2 separate regions of the Homo sapiens genome follow, and region 1 is linked to region 2. The links are contacts of gene promoters, found by promoter capture Hi-C in human tissues and cell types (Jung and others, 2019). All regions are on one chromosome and are shown on one strand. The core of a region is centred on a gene start or on the middle of the fragment in contact, and the rest is flanking DNA. Distances in the headings are between cores, read along the strand shown. Region 1 overlaps ZNF17 (zinc finger protein 17). Region 2 holds the start of ZSCAN4 (zinc finger and SCAN domain containing 4).

Region 1 (3,601 bases), core at 8-2,507, 250 kb before region 2:
TCCTCTGCCTGCAGAATGGAGGACAGAGTGAGAGTTAGGGAAGAACCAAGGATACCTGGGTGATAATTCCTGCCACAGTCCAGTGGAGGTTGGTGGTGGCTGGACACGAGTGGCGGCTGTGGAGGTGGGAGGGGTGGGTGGCTTCTGTAGGTTTTGATCTAGAGCTGCTCACATTTTTTGATGTACAGAGCGAGGAAGCTCGGGAGGTAGGATGCAAGAGGGAGTCAGGAATGGCCCCATTGTTTTGGCCTTGTTGAGAAGGTTGGATGTTCCAGCAACTAAGATGTGGTAAATTTTGTAGTAGGGGGAGTTTAATAGAGCATATGAAGAACGAGGTTTGGGCTAAGTCAAAAATGTTCCAGAGACTCGAGTAGAGGTGCCAGACTGGCAGTTGAACACACAGGAATGGAGTTCAATGGAGGTGTTCAGGATGGAGACATCTACTATATGATAGCCAGCGTGTACACCATGGTAAATCTGTGGGTCAGATTTAGGAATAGACATCTTTAGATTCTGGAGGCAATGCTGTTAGGGAGAAGGAAGGGGAAGGAAGGGGCTGAGGACTGGATCTTTCTGTTGGGCACCTGGATGGGGTTGCTGGGCATCACAAAGACAGATGAGGGAGTGGATGGACTGAGGATATGTGTGTGTGTATTTGTGTGTTTATGTTGGAGATGGCCTTTGGAAAATAAAGGCTTTTGAGGGGGAGAGTGCACATAAAAGTTGGATGGTGAGGCATCTCCACAAAAGAGGTGAGATGATAGTGAGGTCTGGGAGGGGCTTAGTACCCTATTATGGACTCAACAGGGTTTTGTGGCAAATATTGGTTGTACCTGGGTAGTTTCACGCGAACTCTGAGACTATTTTGGCAGAAGATGGGATCATCTAGAAGCATTGCTAGTCCTGGGGTGGGGATGGTGTTGGGGAGGTCAGTGTATCTGGGCTTTGGATTAGAGTTGGGGGATAGAGAAAGTCGTGACTGCTTATGGGACAACATATACATGTAGAAGGGGGAGACAGCCAAGATCTGGAACTCAAAGGAGGTGTGCAAGAATATGTGGGTTTGGAAAGCTGAGGTCAAAGAAAGAAACAGGATTGGGTTGGGAGACGTTCAAAGCAATGTTTCCTAAACATTGCATTCTGGTCATTCTAGGGGCAAATACGATTCTGGTTGCATTTGTCATGCACTGCAGGATTTCATGTGCAGAGTGGCATGGTAACACGCCATGGAAATACTCCCAGTTGGGCTGTGGTGGTTGTTAGTGTTGCCAAGAGTGGAGGTGTTGGATACATGAGGGAGGTGCCATCCAAAGCCTGAGTGGAGGAGCATGAATAGATGGTTCCACCTCTGGCACTGGGCACTTAAGGGAGGAGGGTGAGTCCAAGTTTGGTTATCTGAGAGGCAAGATCTGGGTGACTCTAGGGAAATTGAGTGACAAAAGAAAGGTAGGCCCCCATGTGCCAGGTGTTTTTTTTGTTTTGTTTTGTTTTTTGAGATGGAGTCTAGCTCTGTTGCCCAGGATGGAGTGCAGTGGCGCGATCTCGGCTCACTGCAACCTCTGCCTCCCAGGTTCAAGCAGTACTCTGCCTCAGCCTCCCGAGTAGCTGGGATTACAGGTGCCTGCCACCATGCCCGGCTAATTTTTGTATTTTTAGTAGAGATGGGGTTTTACTATCTTGGCCAGGCAGGTCTTGAACTCCTAACCTTGTGATCTACCTGCCTCAGCCTCCCAAAGTGCTGGGATTAGAGGCATGAGCCACCATGCCCGGCCATGTGCCAGGTTTTGATGGCGCTTTTCAGTCTCTTTCCCCCACCCATCTTTGTTCTATACTGGAGTCAGTGATCAGTGGCAATGAGGGGAGAGCAGGTACAGGTGCCATGAAGACCTAGTGTCTCTTCCTCCTTCAGAAGTGGGTGGAGGCTAGCAGGGTGTGGATGTGTGTGGGTGTGGTGAGGAGCACTGAAGGTCCTGGAGAGGGAAGTGTATCAGTGATTGTACCCACAGGATTTCAATCTGTGAACAAGAGTGAGTGATTACAGAAAAGCCAATGACATTGAAATAATTTTTTTTTTCAATTGGTGAGAAATCATACCTGGATGAAATGATTTTTATTCCTTTCATTTCCTGAGTGCAGGGAGCATGCCACATCACATAAAGCCACAGAGGAAATAGCGGATTTGGTCAGGTGGCAGATGCACAGTTGAAGGGAGAGCATATATCAGTGGCTTTATTGGGGTTTTGGCTGGAAAGGCATGCAGGGGAGAGTGAAGAGCTTAAGACTGGGTAGTTTGCATGATTTTGGCAGCCTTGGGGTATAGGGACTATCCCTCCTTTTGTGGTACAAGCCTTGTGTTGATTTAGGGCAGGAGAAAGAATCATGTGTGATTGTTAGATAGGAGGCAGTTCAGTCTATGGGATCTGGATTATAAGAGAAATGTTAAAATGCTGGTTGTTATTTTGGTCCTCTAATTCTTAGATTTCAAGTAGATAAATACAGATCTAAGGAAACAGAATAAGAAGTTGCTCATGGGCCGGGCGTGGTGGCTCATGCCTGTAATCCCAGCAATTTGGGAGGCCAAGGCAGGCAGTTCACGAGGTCAGGAGTTCTAGACCAGCCTGAACAACATGGTGAAACCCCATCTCTACTAAAAATACAAAAATTAGCCAGTCATGGTGGCACGCGCCTGTAATCCCAGCTACTCAGGAGGCTGAGGCAGGAGAATCACTTGAATCCGGGAGGCGGAGCTTGCAGTGAGCCGAGATCACACCACTGCACTCCAGCCTGGCAACAGAGCGAGACTCCATCTCAAAAAAAAAAAAAAAAAGAAAGAAAAAAAAAGTTGCTCACAGACTAAACTGTTATAATTTTGGCAGGATTATATGGTTTTTGAGGACGTGGCCATACATTTCTCCCAGGAGGAGTGGGGAATTCTTAATGACGTTCAGAGACACCTGCACAGCGATGTGATGCTGGAGAACTTTGCACTTTTGTCCTCAGTAGGTAAGGCCCTGACACCTACGTCAGTGTCTTGTGCTGGGCAATGTTTTTTCACTTTTTTCCTTGGCATCTCCGTCTCACACCAGGTCATGGATGCTGCATCCTCTCCTGGTTTCCTGGCATATGTGTTGTGGCAGCTACAGCTGGGCTGTGTGATCTGTATCAATTTTCCTTAAGAAGCTTAGCTCTTGTCACTCTGAAGCCTTATAAGGCTCAAAAGTCAGAAGTCCTCAGGTTTCTCAAGAATATCCTAATGACCTTGCCTGTCCCTGGTTAGTTTACTCTGTCCAAATGCATGACACTTTCTCTGTGCAAGGCTTTCTCCATTCTTCTTGCTGACATAGGGATACCCTGTGTCAGGAATTTCAGGGACCTACCTCGTCACTGCTTGTGAGGACTGTGGGCTTATTTCTGCAGGACTCTCCACTAGAAGTTCTGGTAACTTTAGAATACAGCATGTCCTGGGTTTATTGCTCTGTGTACATGCTGTTGACACCCTCCCTTTCCCTGTCTTTCCCCTAGCTTGGCTAACGCCACACCTAGATAGTTGCTCACCTTGAGCAAGGTAGAGGTCCCTGGGTGCCTGACAGAGTGGACATTA
Region 2 (3,551 bases), core at 317-2,816:
CCACTCTGGAGCCAGGTATCAAATCCTAGCCCAGCCACTTACAGGCTATGTAGCACTGGCCAAGGTACTGAACTTCTCTGTGCCTCTGTTATTTTGATGTTAAAATGGAGTTATTTAGGATCTACTTTACAGGACTGTTGTGATGGAAATGGGTTAACATACAGAAAGCACTGAGAACAGAGTCAAATATGCCCTGACTGCTTAAAGGTTAGTTATTATGATCCCTGATGCTATTACTACTCTTACTGATATCATCGTGCCTCAGGTCTAACTGCTCCCAGAGTTACACACCAGCATGTCCAACAGCTGGCTGTATATCTGAACTCAAAAATCCAATAACCTCCTCCAAACAGAAATTGCCAGCTTTTCCCCAAACCTTTTCCTTACAGCTCCTTACAGAGCTCAAGGAACTCCTTGAGACTGCAGAAGCAGACAGGAAATGCTTTCAACCCACCACAAATTAACAACTGGCCTCCAGTGGTACTCACATTGTCTACATTTTTCATTGTTTTTTTTTTGTTTGTTTTTTGTTTGTTTGTTTGTTTGTTTTTGAGACAGAGTCTCACTCTGTCGCCCAGGCTGGAGAGCAGTGGTGCGATCTTGGCTCACTGCAACCTCGGCCTCCCAGGTTCAAGTGATTCTCCTGCCTCAGGCTCCCGAGTACTTGGGATTACAGGTGCCTGCCACCATGCCTGGCTAATTTTTGTATTTTTTTAGTAGAGACGAGGTTTCATCATGTTGGCCAGGCTGGTCTCAAACTCCTGACCTCAGGTGATCCACCCGCCTCGGCCTCCCAAAGTGCTGGGATTACAGGCATGAGCCACTGCGCCCAGCCCATTTTTCATTGTTGTAGCAGAGAAGTATCCCTGCTTCCATCAAGAGCCAATTTTCCTGTCACAGTTGGTTTAATGACATAGTTGGTGACAGGACCTAAACCACCAGTGGAAAATTGGCTCTTGATGGGAGCAGGGATACTTCTCTGTATGGAGTATATGTGGATGAAACTCCTTGGAGAAATGGACTAGTACACAGTCTTATAATGTGAGGATTCAGAACATAATTCCTAATGTGGGGAAGTCAAGCAGACATTTCATCAGTGGAGTACCAGGAGATTCAAACTCTGTACCCAACAGTGATAGGGGGACAATCTAAGCCCCAAGAGGCTGCATGCCTGATGGAGCAGATGAAACACATGGCTGTAATTAGCTCCCACCCCTTCGATACGTTCTCAACTCCACCAAAGCCTCAGCCTGTATGAGGGTGGAAAGTGGGGAGGGAGAGTGCAGGGAAGAAGGCACAGCTTCCACCACACTAGGTGACCAGGCGCTTCTCACCATTTTAACTCCTCCATCTCTCTCAAGCCTCATGTTAAGTCTATCAAACATCATATGCTTTCTCAATATAAAATATGCACCAATTTCTCCCTTTCCACTGATATAATCCTAGTCTCAACCCCTGTCATCTTTTTGATGGATTAGGAATGCCTTCTCTGGGTCCCGGGCCCCCTCTGTTTCACCAGCCTGGAATTGGCACAGGAGTCACAGCATTAGCCTTGCCCTCTGCCACCCTTGTAATTCATAAATCTCTGAAAACTTAAAAGTTTGAGCAAAAGTTTGTCATGTTTCTATGAGTAATTTATAATAAAACTTGATCAGAATTTGTGAGACTAACGTTTGTCTTTATATTTTCCTTTTTTTTTTTTTTTTTTTTGAGACACAGTCTCGCTCTGTCGTCCAGGCTGGAGTGCCGTGGCGTAATCTCGGCTCACTGCAACCTCTGCCTCCTGGATTCAAACAATTCTTCTGCCTCAGCCTCCTGAGTAGCTGGGATTACAGGTGCATGCTACCACGCCCAGATAATTTTTGTATTTTTAATAGAAACCGGGTTTAACCATGTTGGTCAGGCTGGTCTCAAACTCCTGACCTCATGATCCACCTGCCTCGGCCTCCCAAAGTGCTGGGATTACAGGCGCGAGCCACCACACCCAGCCTGTCTTTATATTTTCATTTAATGTGGACCTTGTTACATTTTACCGCAGATTTTGTATTTTTGTGTGTGTTTGTTTGTTTGTTGGTTTTTGAGACAGTCTACCTCTGTCGCCCAGGCTGCAGTGCAGTGGCACAATTTCAGCTCACTGCAACCTCCGCCTCTGTGGTTCAAACAATTCTTCTGCTCAGCCTCCTGAATAGCTGGGACTACAGGCACGCGCCACTACGCCTGGCTAATTTTTGCATTTTTAGTAGAGATGGGGTTTCACCATATTGGCCAGGCTGGTCTCGAACTCTTGACCTCGTGATCCGCCCACCTCGGCCTCCAAAAGTGCTGGGATTACAGGCATGGTTTTTTTTTTGTTCGTTTTGTTTTGTTTTTTTTTTAGAGACTTGGTCTCCTTCCATTTCCCAGGCCAGAGTTCAGTAGGGCGGTCATAATCCACTGTAGCCATGAACTCCCTGGCTCAAACAAGCTACACAGACATGCCACCATGCCTGGCTAACATTTTTAACATTATTTTTGGTAGAGACAGGGTCTTGCTTTGTTGCTCAGGCTAGGGATTCACAGAGTCTTGCTCTGTCTCCCAGGCTGGAATGCAGTGGCGCAATCTTGGCTCACTCTAGCCTCTGCCTCCCAGGTTCAAGTAATTCTCCTGCCTCAGCCTCCCAAGTAGCTGGGATTACAGGTGCCCACCACCATGCCCGGCTAATTTTTGTATTTTTAGTAGAGAAAGGGTTTCACCATGTTGGCCAGGCTGGTCTTGAACTCCTGATCTCAGGTGATCTGCCTGCCTCAGCCTCCCAAAGTGCTGAGATTACAGGTGTGAGCCACTGCACCTAGCCTGCAGAAATATTAATGTGTTTGTTTATGACCTGTTGACCCAGGACCAGTGATGGTATAGAACACTGTATTAGAGACATGGAGCTGGGGCTGGATGAAGATTCCATCAGTAATTCAATCAACAGACAAGTGTTATCCAATCACGTCTTTAAATCAATCACTGACATGGAGCTGGGGCTGGATGAAGATTCCATCAGTAATTCAATCAACAGACAAGTGTTATCCAATCACGTCTTTAAATCAATCACTGATCCCAGCCCCTATAAAAGGGAGCAGCCTTAGGAGGCACATCAGATAAACCCAGTGTGGAAAGCTAGTCACACATCAGCTCAGTGTTCGGCCCGGGATTACCCAGTCAACCAAGGAGGTAAGCTTCCATAATGGAAGGAAAATTTTGTGCCTTTGAGTGTGTATACATTTTGTGTCTTTGAGTGTGTATACATAATTTTGTGTCTTTGAGTGTGTATACATGTGTATGTAGGCATAGCTATTTCAGGAAAATTCCTAACTACAGAGATATGGGGGTCTCCCAGGTGTAGGGAATGGTCTTTTGTTACAACAGCTCTGACCCAAAAGGGCTTGATGTTGTGAACTCTGTATAAAGGCCTGGTGTGACTGAAGATTTTTCTTCAAAAAGTCTATCGTATGACTTTATGTTCTAGTAATTCTTTTTTTTTTTTCGAGACAAGATCTCTATCACCCAGGCTAAAGTTTAGTAG

Evidence for each region. Contacts are between HindIII fragments. The study calls those that stand out against the background at their distance.
Region 1: a contact is called between a fragment that was not itself captured here and the fragment with the promoter of ZSCAN4 in region 2, in 1 of the 25 tissues and cell types used here (spleen).

What each region holds. Positions count from the first base shown.
Region 1 is chr19:57,415,036-57,418,636 of GRCh38, forward strand. ZNF17 (zinc finger protein 17) reads left to right here. Exons shown (of 4, transcript NM_001330617.2): 3 at 2,877-3,003. Among named protein-coding and RNA genes, the nearest start is that of ZNF17, 5.7 kb to the left of the region's middle. The HindIII fragment of the contact is 5,457 bases long and covers 1-3,601 here.
Region 2 is chr19:57,667,369-57,670,919 of GRCh38, forward strand. ZSCAN4 (zinc finger and SCAN domain containing 4) reads left to right here and starts at 1,567. Exons shown (of 5, transcript NM_152677.4): 1 at 1,567-1,835; 2 at 2,877-3,199. The HindIII fragment of the contact is 8,369 bases long and covers 1-3,551 here.